Regions from separate parts of the Homo sapiens genome. Here all the other regions are linked to region 2. The links are contacts of gene promoters, found by promoter capture Hi-C in blood cells and fetal thymus (Javierre and others, 2016). All regions are on one chromosome and are shown on one strand. The core of a region is centred on a gene start or on the middle of the fragment in contact, and the rest is flanking DNA. Distances in the headings are between cores, read along the strand shown.

The links. Contacts are between HindIII fragments. The CHiCAGO score rates a contact against its expected background, and 5 or more counts as called.
Region 1: a contact is called between a fragment that was not itself captured here and the fragment with the promoter of LINC01605 in region 2, in 3 of 17 cell types (monocytes, total B cells and naive B cells). The highest score is 5.9, in monocytes.
Region 3: a contact is called between a fragment that was not itself captured here and the fragment with the promoter of LINC01605 in region 2, in 4 of 17 cell types (M1 macrophages, M0 macrophages, total B cells and 1 more). The highest score is 7.3, in M1 macrophages.

The regions. Positions count from the first base shown.
Region 1 is chr8:37,402,944-37,406,675 of GRCh38, reverse strand. LINC01605 (long intergenic non-protein coding RNA 1605) reads left to right here. Exons shown (of 5, transcript NR_170186.1): 5 at 1-46. Among named protein-coding and RNA genes, the nearest start is that of LINC01605, 200 kb to the left of the region's middle. The HindIII fragment of the contact is 8,119 bases long and covers 1-3,732 here.
Region 2 is chr8:37,598,073-37,602,014 of GRCh38, reverse strand. LINC01605 (long intergenic non-protein coding RNA 1605) reads left to right here and starts at 2,176. Exons shown (of 5, transcript NR_170186.1): 1 at 2,176-2,954. The HindIII fragment of the contact is 9,185 bases long and covers 1,790-3,942 here.
Region 3 is chr8:37,369,678-37,373,439 of GRCh38, reverse strand. No RefSeq gene overlaps it. Among named protein-coding and RNA genes, the nearest start is that of LINC01605, 230 kb to the left of the region's middle. The HindIII fragment of the contact is 2,112 bases long and covers 1,429-3,540 here.

The DNA.
Region 1 (3,732 bases), core at 221-2,720, 190 kb after region 2:
GCTGTCTATTGATTACATAAATAAAAGTGATCACCATTAGACTTTCCATGCAGATGATATTATGCATATACATATCTCCCGCATATGACGTCATTGGATCGTTTTGCAATGGTGGGGGGTTTATTCTTTTCCTTTTTGTTTTCTTCTTTTTTTTGTCAGATGAAGAAACTGATGGGAAGTGAATTGGTTTGTATTAAACATTAGGTTTGCTAGGTCTCTCACATATTTATTTAGTCCTCATAACAATTGTATAAAATAAATATTATTTATTCATTTATTTATTTGTAAAGATGGGTCTCGCTATGTTGCCCAGGCTGGTCTTGAACTCCCGGGCTCAAGTGATCCTCCTGCCTTGGACTTCCAAAATATTGGGATTAAAGGTATGCGCTACTGCACCCGGCCTAAAAGAAATACTATTATCCCCATTTTACAGATTTGTAAACAGAAGCTGACACTTCAGAGTTCCATCCTAATGAAAGTAGGATGTGACAGGGGAGCAAATCTGCTTTGCCCCTGCCCAAGGGCTGGCAGCTCCTCCTCCTGGGGTGCATGGTGAGTGGGTACACCACTCATCTGTATGTACCCGGCAGAAGCTGTCAATTCAGTTCACGTCACTCAAGTTGAATGGATGTAAAACACACACAGAAGCACCAAGTAATTGCATTGTTTTCAAATTACTCACCTCTAGGAGAATTAAATGAGCAAACGGAAGAGCAGCAACCCTGAGTTACATTTCTCAAGACACCGGGGCTCTTGATGGCACAGCAGCAGCTTGCTAGAGCTTGGTAAAGAGACTTGGGCCTGGTACCTGAAGGGCAATTCCTTGGCCATGACATTGTAGGGAAAGACCTCTATGGGTGTTGAAAAGACAAGGCGAGGACAAGAAGAGTTGAAAAGGAGCTGTTCTGAAGCCACCTGGCTGTGGATGGAGGAAGCCACATGTAGCTTAGGTAGCCTGCTATTGTAATTTTTTCTGCAACTGAAGAATTCGAAATGGGTTTGGTGGGTAGCGAAGGGCAGAATCTGGCTTCAAGGTGACAGAGTTTGCATAGAGATGGCCTTCTTGAGCAAAGGTAGTGACTCCTACATTTTTTTTTTTTGTAGAGTTGTGATACCCATGAGTTAGTCAGCTTGGGCTATCATAACAAAATACCACACATTGGTTGGCTTAAACAACAGAAATTCATTTTCCTGTAATTCTGGAGGCTGGAAGTCCAAGATCAAGGTGACGACAGAGTTGGGTTTCCTCTGAAGCCTCTCTCCTTGGTTTTCAGATGGGTGTCCTCTTGCTGTCTCTTCATGTGACTGTCCCTCTGCATGTGTGCCCCTGGGGACTCTTTCTTATCTTATAGTGACACTAGTTCTATTGGATTGAAGTGTACCCATACGACCTCATTTAAACTTAATTACATATTGTAAGGCCCTAACTTCAAATACAGTCACATCCTGAGGTACTGTGTATTAGGGCTTCAACATATAAATTTTGGGGCAATCCAGTTCAGCCCATAAAATCCCTTTTTGGTTGCTTGATTCTGTTTATTTGGTGTCATGCCTTCCTTTTCCTAAAGAACTTCATGAATAGAATTACTTTCTAAGTGAAAGGAACAAAACTGATTTTTATTAAAAATTATTTTGAGATGCTTGTGACAAATTTTGAAGTAAGTGAAGATTTTCCTGGAGCTTCTACAAAATCCTGGCTGAGAATCCCTGCTTTCTGGACAGTTGAGAAGGAAATACACTTAGTACAGCTGTTAGAGAGATATAGTTGCAACCACTGAGTGCTTATTATCTGCCAACTTAAATATATTGCCCAAGGGAATAACAAATATTCTAGTGTTCTTGTTAAGTATATTGTCTAAGGTCACACAGCTCTTAAACAACAGCTTCAGGATTTGAACCTGGAATCTATCTGACTCCTAAGTCCAGATGCTGTTCACCACATTAGGTTGAAGCATGGCCAGTGTTCATAACATACAACTATGTCTCCATATCTTTTGCTAACCAATGTTCTTGTATGTGCATACCTTACAGGGCAGCCATTCACCACAAGCCCTACTAGATGGCTTCCTGTAATAAGGGTAGAACAGTAGTACTCTCCTTTTGAGAAGTTATTTGTAATTTTGTTGGTGGGCTGACATTTAGGCCCTGCTCTCCAGCCCCAGAGGGGATCCCATAACCTAGATCAGGCCAATGATGATTATCTCCGTGACTGTAGTGGCTGGTCCAGCGGGGAGGGTCAGGCAGGTAAGCTGGCCCAACCTGAGTCCTTCTTGAGGATTTTAGAAACTGAAGGTAGGAGAGAAAAATTCTCTCTTTTCTTCTGGGGAACGGGATGAAGGTGGTGGGTAGGCAGAGCTGTTGGGATGTGGATCCAGGGATTCTGGAAGTCCTGTCCTCCACCATGTAAAGAATACATCCTGCAGAAGGAGAGAAGGGAGCCAGCACACAGAGAAGCAGAGTCAGGAGATGGAGAAGGAGAATCCTGAGAGCCTGAAGGTCCCTGGGTCCAGCCATTGTCAAGGCCGAGTTCTACCGTCCTTAAGTTGTTTACCTTTCTTTCTTGCTTGCTTCTGTTAGAAGATGAACACTCAATGAAAAATCACCAAACATCTGAGGAAAGCCATCAAAATGAAATAAACGAAACACACAAGTTCCTAAACACAAGTGAACAGCGTGGGCTGGGTTTTTGTCGCTTGGAACTGGAAACGCTGACGATAATGCTGACCTCTGAGCAGACCCACGTGAGGGGCAGCTGTGGTGTGGTGTGATGATGCTGGGATAGGCACTCAGATGGTTGAGTCTGAGTTTGGCTCTGATATTATATCAACTGCATGGGCAGCTGTGGTGTGGTGTGATGATGCTGGGATAGGCACTCAGATGGTTGAGTCTGAGTTTGGCTCTGATATTATATCAACTGCATGGGCAGCTGTGGTGTGGTGTGATGATGCTGGGATAGGCACTCAGATGGTTGAGTCTGAGTTTGGCTCTGATATTATATCAACTGCATGGGCAGCTGTGGTGTGGTGTGATGATGCTGGGATAGGCACTCAGATGGTTGAGTCTGAGTTTGGCTCTGATATTATATCAACCGCATCATTTTGGGGAAGACACAATTTCTCAGAATTTTATTTAGTTGTAAAATAAAGATAATGATATTACATGCTCTGTCTACCATCTAGAGTTTTTGTCAAGACAAACTGAAGTAAACCGTGTTAGAGAAAAATGTTACAAAATTTTAAGCGTGAAGTGAGTAAACAGTGACTCTGTCCTGAGACTACAGCGGAAAGCTGCCTCACAGGCCACATGTGAAAATCTTCTGCCAGAGAACATGAACACTCAATGAAAAATTGCCAAACATCTGAGGAAACCCATTAAAATGAAATAAACAAGACAAGTTCTTATAATCAAGGAAACATAGATAATAGAGCCATCAGCACAGGCCTTTAAAAGAAAAGCAATTATATTTAATATCTTTAAATAGATAAAAGAGGGCATTATATGCATGAAAGAAGAATAGGAAATTATAAAACAAGGACAGTTTTTTTTTTTTTTTTTTTTGATAGGGTCTCACTCTGTTGCTTAGTGTGGAGTGCAGTGAATGGCGTGATCATAGCTCACTGCAGCCTTGAACTCCTGGACAATCCTCCCGCCTCAGCTTCCCAAAGAGCTAGGAGTACAGGCACATGCTATGATGCTCAGCTAATTAACATTGTGTATGTGTGTGTGTGTGTG
Region 2 (3,942 bases), core at 927-3,426:
GATTTCACCGAGAAGGGGACTCAGGCCTGGGGTCAAGGTGAGGGCTGCAGCATCAGAACTGGCAGACAATGTCAGAAACATTTAGGAAGAGTGATGGATTCCCAGATCGGGGTTAGGAGCAGCTGCCCCCTCAAACGTTGGGGCCTCAGAGACCAGAATTTAACCCCCAGATCTGCCACTTTTGCTACGTGTGTCACTAGGTCATGTTGGGTAACCTCTGATTCATGGCTTGCTTATCTGTAAAAGGTGGGCGATGATAACTATCTTGCATGATGGTTGCAGGGGGGTCAAATCAGATAATATCTGCTTACCCAGAGCCTTGCAAATAATAGTTGCTTACCAAATGTCCTTGTATTTTGTTGAGTTGCTCTTGCCTTGGGTGGGAACTGACCTTTTAGAGACAGTGGTGGGACGGGGCAGGAGGTGAGTGGGTGGGGAGGGCTGAAGATGGTGAGAGACTGGAAGATTCCCGGGGTTCATCAAGTTAGTCAAGAATGACTTTGGGAGACCCTCCCACCCCCGGGTGCTAACCCCAGAACCAGGCAACTTGGGGGCTGTGGAAACAGAGGCTACTAAGGAAATAGAGACCAAAGAATGACTTAGCATACCTAGGATTTCAAGTTAATGAGTTGAAAATTATACCCAGGGCCAGGGAGCCTCACTGAGAGGTCAACCAAGCTTATCCTTGGCATTTCCTCCCCACCCCGACCTCTGCCTGGGATGTTCTCTGCTGTCATTCTCTGAGTGTATGCGGATACTCTCCTATCTCATCTGCAAAACAAGTGGCTTGGATGGGATGTTGACTAAGACCAACGAGATACCTTCCATGGTCTTAAAGATCAAAGATTTTACTTTTCTGTTAATCTGAGAACTTAGAAGGATCCCCTCCAAGTTAGAGGACTACATTTACAGCAGCTTAGATGAACAGAAAGGACTAGAAGTGAGAGTGATGGTAACAAGGGCAGTCACTTTCCATCTATAGTGCTCTGGAGTTGATGACAGTGCTCCGTGTATTAGGTTTCCTGATTAAAAACTGTTTATTTTGTAGCAGAGGCTACTGAGGGCCGGAGGTTGTTAAATGACTTGCTTGAGGTCACGCAGGTAGTGAGTGATAAAGTCAGCCTCCTAACCAGGGTTTTCCAGTCCTAACTCTGATACAAAGTAACTGTGTGAAGACATTGCCCATATCTAGGCCCCAGTCTCCCAATCTGTGAAATGGGTGGATTGTTCCACTGGCAATAAGATGTGGTGTTTTGTTTTGTTTTGTTTTGTTTTGTTTTGTGACAGGGTCTCTCTCTCTGTTGCCTGGGCTGGAGTCCAGTGGCATGATTCCAGCTCACTGCAGCCTCAAACTCCTGGGCTCAAGCGATCCTCCTGCTGCAGTCTCCTGAGTAGCTGGGACTACAGGTGCACACCACCGTGCCCAGCTAAGTTTTTTTTTTTTAGTTTATATGGGGTCTCACTATGTTGCCCAACCTAGTTTTGAACTCCTGGCCTCAAGCGATCCTGCCTTGGCCTCCCTGAGTGCTGGAGTTACAGATGTGAGCCACCGTGCCCAGCCAGATGTGTGATCTTATGGTTTGCCTTTTGCTCCCACACGTCAGAACTGGTGATCTGCTTGCCCTTGGAATGCCAGGGGCCGACCTGATTTTCAGGAAATGGTCCTTTCCCTGTGGGTGGGGAAGCTTCACTTGGTGCTGTTTGGTAAATAACTGTATTGGTCTCCGGAGGGTTTGAAAATCACATTTCTCCCTCTTATTGCTATGGGCGACTAACACTAGCTAAAGCTTGAAATCAGGCCCCAAAGGGTGGCCTCGCTGATGACTCTGGTTTCTCTTTTCACTGTCTAGGGCCCAGGGAGTTTCTCAGCATTTTTGATTGTGAAGGACTATAGAGGCCTTCCTGTGCCCAGAAAGGCCTTGCTTGGTGGGTGTTTAGTCCAAGCCCTTGCCTTCAGGCGGATGGACCAGATGACCTAATAAAGTTTCTAATAAAACCTCCTGGGCAGATCACCAACCTCCTTCCTCTTTAAAGTCTCATTGAGAGAGGAATGTCTACAGCATCCTTGGTAACACATTACAGTGTTTCACAACCCTCCTAGCCAGGAAGCTGTTCTTAATGTTTAACCTTAATCCCTCCCGCTGAAATTTAAGGCCCTTTTCTCTTGTTGAGTGCAAATGGAGAACAGCTGCTCACGCTCGTCGTCTGACATCAGCTATTTCTCAGGATGACCCTGCGAGACAGGCCAGGGTCATTAGACCCAATTTGGTTCTCAGCAAATATGTGTTTATTCCTGCATGCGTGGGCCACAGGCTGGTTTCTTGGGTGCAATGAATAGCTGCAGGTTTATTAGGGTGTCTTTTTAGATGGATGTATGTTTCCCGATGTCTATAGAACACTCCGGACCCCGGAGAGTGAAGACTCTGCCTGTCGGACTTGCTTTGAGAAGATCCTTCTCCACCTCCCCATGGCAGAAGTTGCTTCACAGAGGGGAACAGTTTTATGGATGTGGCTGAGACCTTAAACTTGAGGCAACCCATCTGAGGTGGCATCCAGAGGAGACTGGCTGGCCCCTCCTTCACCTTGGATGTAGTGCTGTTTCTAGGATCTCTTTTCAATCAGCAAAACAGGGGATGTTCCAAGAGGGTGTGGATTCCCTGCCATCCCACATGGTCAAGTGGAGGGGACGGGAAAAAGCTATGAAGGGTTTGTGACCACACAGACTCTCCTGGCCCCCTGTCCTTTTGGAAAGAAGACAGGGATGAAATATAATCAAGCAATTAACCACCCCCATCATCACCAAGAACAACAGTATCAACAAGAAGAACAGGGACAACAAAACCCACGGATGAAACATTCCTTTCTCAGCTCAGATCTTATCTGGTGCGTTCTCTCTCTGCTCTGTCTTGGTGTGTGGTTTAGAGAAACATGGACAACGCTGTTTGGAAGAACAGGTGAGCGAGGGTGGGGAATTTCAGAGGCCTGGGCCCACCGCCTCCACCCCTTCCCCAGTTTAACCTTTGACAGGATCTTCACCTCTCTCTGATCAGCATTGCTTCTTGTTCAAAGGCCTCAGCCACCCAGCTGTGTCCCTTTCCCCAGAAAGCAAGGGCAGATGGCAGTGGGTCTGTTGATGAGAGAACTTTAAGGGCCCAATCAGTCCCTGGGCACCCCCTCCTGGGCTCGTTTTCTCCAGGAGGCTGCATTCTGATCCATAAACCTTCTCCTCGGGGTTTAGGGTCGAGCTGTTCCTGATGTTTATCGGAGACTGGGATCAAAGCTATCCAGGTCATAAATCTCTCTCTGTGGCTGTTGGGCCCCAGGGCAGCTGAAGAGGGTTGACAGCCCTTTGGACCTCAAAGGAAAAAATGTGCTCTACTCCACCCACTCCCAGCTCTGCCAAGAAGCTGTCCTCTGAGAAGCCATGGCTGGGCCGTTCCATTCTGGGGAGCTGCTGAAAAGAGCTGGGAGGCCGAGAAGAACTTGCGTGTGCTGGGGGAGAGGAAGCCTGGCCTTGAGGGAGGGGTGCAGGTGTGGCTCCTCTGTGTGTGGGGGCTGGGGGACCTTGTGTGCCTTTTCCTTGTGGCTGTGAAATGCTTTATGAGTACTTCCATAGGAGGATGGACAGGGAGTCGGGGAGATAAACTCAGCCACAAGGCCCCAGGGCCTCAGGAAACTTGCACCCAACCCTCTCATTTTACAGAAGAAAACTGTGCCTGGAAGGTTGAAGGGTTTGTTCCCAGTCACACAACCAGGGATCCTTAGGACAGCCAGACCAGGAAACCATTTCCAAACTGCCAAGCCATGGCAGAGTATCAAGACCTCAGGAACCATCGAGACACCATGGAAGCATTGGGAAAAGCCTCCTTAGCTTTTGAAGCTCCTCATTGTTCTTGAGTGTGCATGGAGCCCATGACTGCGGGGTTTTGTAGACACCTCAGG
Region 3 (3,762 bases), core at 1,235-3,734, 230 kb after region 2:
CTCCCAAGTAGCGGGGACTACTGACACCCACTACCACACCCAGCTAATTTTTGTATTTTTAGTAGAGACAGGGTTTCACCATGTTGGCCAGGATGGTCTCAATCTCTTGACCTCGTGATCTGCCTGCCTCAGCCTCCCATAGTGCTGGGATTACAGGCGACCTGATGGTTTTATAAGGCAGTTTTCCCTGCTCTTGCTTGCTCTCTCTCCTGCCGCCTTGTGCCTGCTTCCCCTTCCACCATGATTGTAAGTTTCTAGAGGCCTCCACAGCCATGTGGAACTGTAAGTCAGTTAAACCTCCTTTGTTTATAAATTACCCAGCCTCAGACAGTATGGACTAATACACAAAGCAATCTTTTTTTTTTTTTTTTAATAGAGGCAGGATCTTGCTCTGTCACCCAAGCTGGAGTGCAGTGGCATGATCATAGCTCACTGCAGGCTTGAACTCCTGGGCTCAAGCGATCCTTCCACCTCAGCCTCCTGAGCAACTGGGACTACAGGTGCCCACCACCACACCCAGCTAATTTTTAATTTTTTTGTAGAGTTGGGATCTCTCTCTGTTGTTCAGGCTCATCTTGAATGCCTGTCCTCAAGTGATCCTCTTTCCTTGGTCTTCCACAGTGCTGGGATTACAGACATGAGCTTAAGCACTTACTATGTGCCAAGCAATCTGAGAAGTGCTCCACAAGCTTCTCTTCTAATTCCACATCAAACTGTACTTCTGCTCAAGGCCACACAGGTGGTTGGGGATGGTGCCTGGCTTGTCTAAGGGCTGCTGTGCTCCACAGGCCGGAGGTGTCCACTATTCCGCTGTGTTATTTTGGAGCCATCTATGTTAATTTTATGAAGTTGCAGCATGATTGTTGTATTGACCAGAAACGTGTACATTCGTTTTCGTGGCAGGATCTCTGAGCACCTAGTGGCAGCAATTTTCTGAAATACTTTAGGTTTAGACCCACAGGACATTTTTCTTCTTTATCTAAATGCTGATGTATAATAGGGAGCTATATTATTACTATAATGTTCTCTTGAATTGAGCCTCTGGAAAGGCGCCAAGACCAAGTTTGGACTCAAGCAAAAGCCCCACTGGGAAGAGTTACATGGGGGGTGTGGGGGCTGGGAGGCTCTTCAGTCACAGAGGCTCCTCTTGGCAGGAGACTGGACCCTCACTTTCCTTTAATGCACTCAAGACCGTTGAACCCCGGGCCAGATGCCCTCCCTCTATATGCTATTGCATTCCAGCCCATAATTGTGAATTATTATTAAAGTAATATATACTATTTACTGAGCACCTACTAAGTGCCAGGGATAGCCCAAGCTACTTTGCTTGGGCTCTTTATTCACTACTACCACACTGTCTTTATGGAGTAGGAACTATTGCTGTTTCTGTTTACAGATAAGGAAACTGAGGCTTAGAGAAAGTAAGCTTTCCCAAGATTAGGATGTAAAAGTCTTCTCAACCCTAGAGCCTGTGCTTGTTTTACCAGACTCAACTGCCTACTATTCTCAAGCACTCAGCTCCTCAAATCTCAAATCTCACATCCCTAACCGCCCATCTCCCCTCATCTAAACCTCTGCAGCAATACATTTCTTTCTCTTTTCTTTCTTTTTTTTTATTCTCTTTTCTTCTTTCTGACAAGGTCTTGCTCTGTCACCCAGACTGGAATGCAATGGCATGATAACAGCTCACTGCAGCCTCCACCTCTGCCTCCCGGGCTCAAGTGATCCTCCCACCTCAGCTTCCCAAGTAGCTGGGACTACAGGTGTGCACCACCATGCCCAGCTAATTTTTGTATTTTTTGCAGAGATGAGGTTTCACCATGTTGCCCAGGCTGGTCTCAAACTCTCGGACTCAAGCAATCCTTCTGCCTCAGTCTCCCAGAGTGCTGGGAGCAATACAGTTCTAAAAGTCACAGCCAGTACTAAACATGGCCCCCCGGCTGCTAGCCCTATGGTGAAGTGTCTTCTTGTTTTGTGATATGGTATCCCTGGTCAGAACGGACAAAAGATCCTTTGAACTGTGATAGGAGGGGAGGGGCTCTTGCCTGTGCTTTGCCTGTGTGTCTGTAGAGTGTTTGTGGCAGGCTTTTCTTAGGGAATTGAGGGATTCCTTCTATCCCAAGTGGTCTAGCCAAGAGGAAGCAGATACGCCTCATTAACAGGTCCTCTCAACCTTTGAGAAGTACAGGGAAGCAGCCTGAGGCTTCCAGACTCTGCAGCTGCTAGGACTGCGCTGCACCTCCCTGGAGCAACTGACACTGCTTCTCAGTGCCTGCTAATGCCTGGATGCAGCTCTCATTCTTGGTACCAGATTCCCCTCCCCCATGACTTTTCCAGAAACCCTCAAGATCTTTCACTTTTAAGAAATAAACAAGAAAGTGGGCCCTGTATTTAGTAAAATATATCTTTCAGCCTGTTCAGCCAGCTAGGTCCTTGATCCCAGGCGTTTTCATCGTAAGGAAGACTTTGATCAACTGCCGCATTTCAAAGAGACAGGGAAGTTCTTTAGCTTGCATGAAGCACAATCCCTGTCTGTACTGGAAAGTCCCGGGCTGCACAGTGCTGGCACCAGCCCTTGGGAACCAGCAAGTGAGATGAATTAGAAGCCTAGAGCAAAATATTTGGTTTCATGCAATTTAGTTTCTTATTACTACTTGCTTAAAATTCTGTGGAACAATTAAATCTTAAAAGTGTCTTGTGAATGCCTTGGGATCTCTTTTCCTTCAGGTTTATTGATTGTATTTGATATCACTCACAACTGCAATTTTTTTTTTTAACATTTAATAAGACCATTTGGTTGGAACCCAGAAAAAGTGCACAAAACGAGAGAGCACCTCAACTATGGCAAGAGGCCCAAGCCAGTGGAAAGCCTCACATTTATCCACCAAAAACCTTCTCCTTGTGGTTGACTTTGAATTCAGGGCATTCGCTGGACCCAGTGGAGAAACAGTTCTGAAGGAATGCTTGGCGATCCTGTCCTTGAGTAATATAGAGAATCATTGGGAGTAAAGCAGAGAAGATCCCAAACAAAAGGCGTTTGAGAACCCTTTAAGGAAACAGATGAACAAAAACAAATGGATATAGGATCCTCTCCCTCCCTCTACTCAAACAGAGGTTCTGAGAGCTGATTTACAAATAAACATTGGCAGCATGCTCTGAATTTGACTTGCAACTTTCAGTACCAGGTAATCACACTGAGTGTCTTAACTCCAGGCGTTTCAGGAGTAAAGGAGTCATCGAAGGTAGAAAAACACTATAAGCAAGTGTTTATTTCATTTTTCTGACCACCTCTTGGCAAGCGCTTCACTCATTCTTCTTCCCAAGAGTTGGCTTCTAGATGCCTGAACTGAAGAGGGCCTGAATAAATTCACGGTACGGCTGATGAAGCCAGGTCTGCTGCCTGAACTTCTTTTTTGTTTAAAAAAAAATCCAGGTTAAAAGGCATTTTAGAATAATAAAGTATAAGAGCTGCCTTCTGTCTATCCTGGAAGATGGGCTACCATCCCACTCCATTTCAGCATGGAGGTGTCGTAAGAAGCTTAAAACACATAACCCCTGCAAAGATGGAAATGAATATTTTTCGGCAAAAGAGGAAATAGAGGGGGTGAGGAGGAGGTGGAGGAAGAAACACCGATTACGCTGCTTTGATGGCCTTCTATTTTCAAGCCCTGGGAAAGAAGGATTGGAGCTGCCGCACTCAATATAGAGCAGCGATCTGTGGTTGAGGGAATGCAGCACATCTGCCTTTTATAGGTTTGGAAT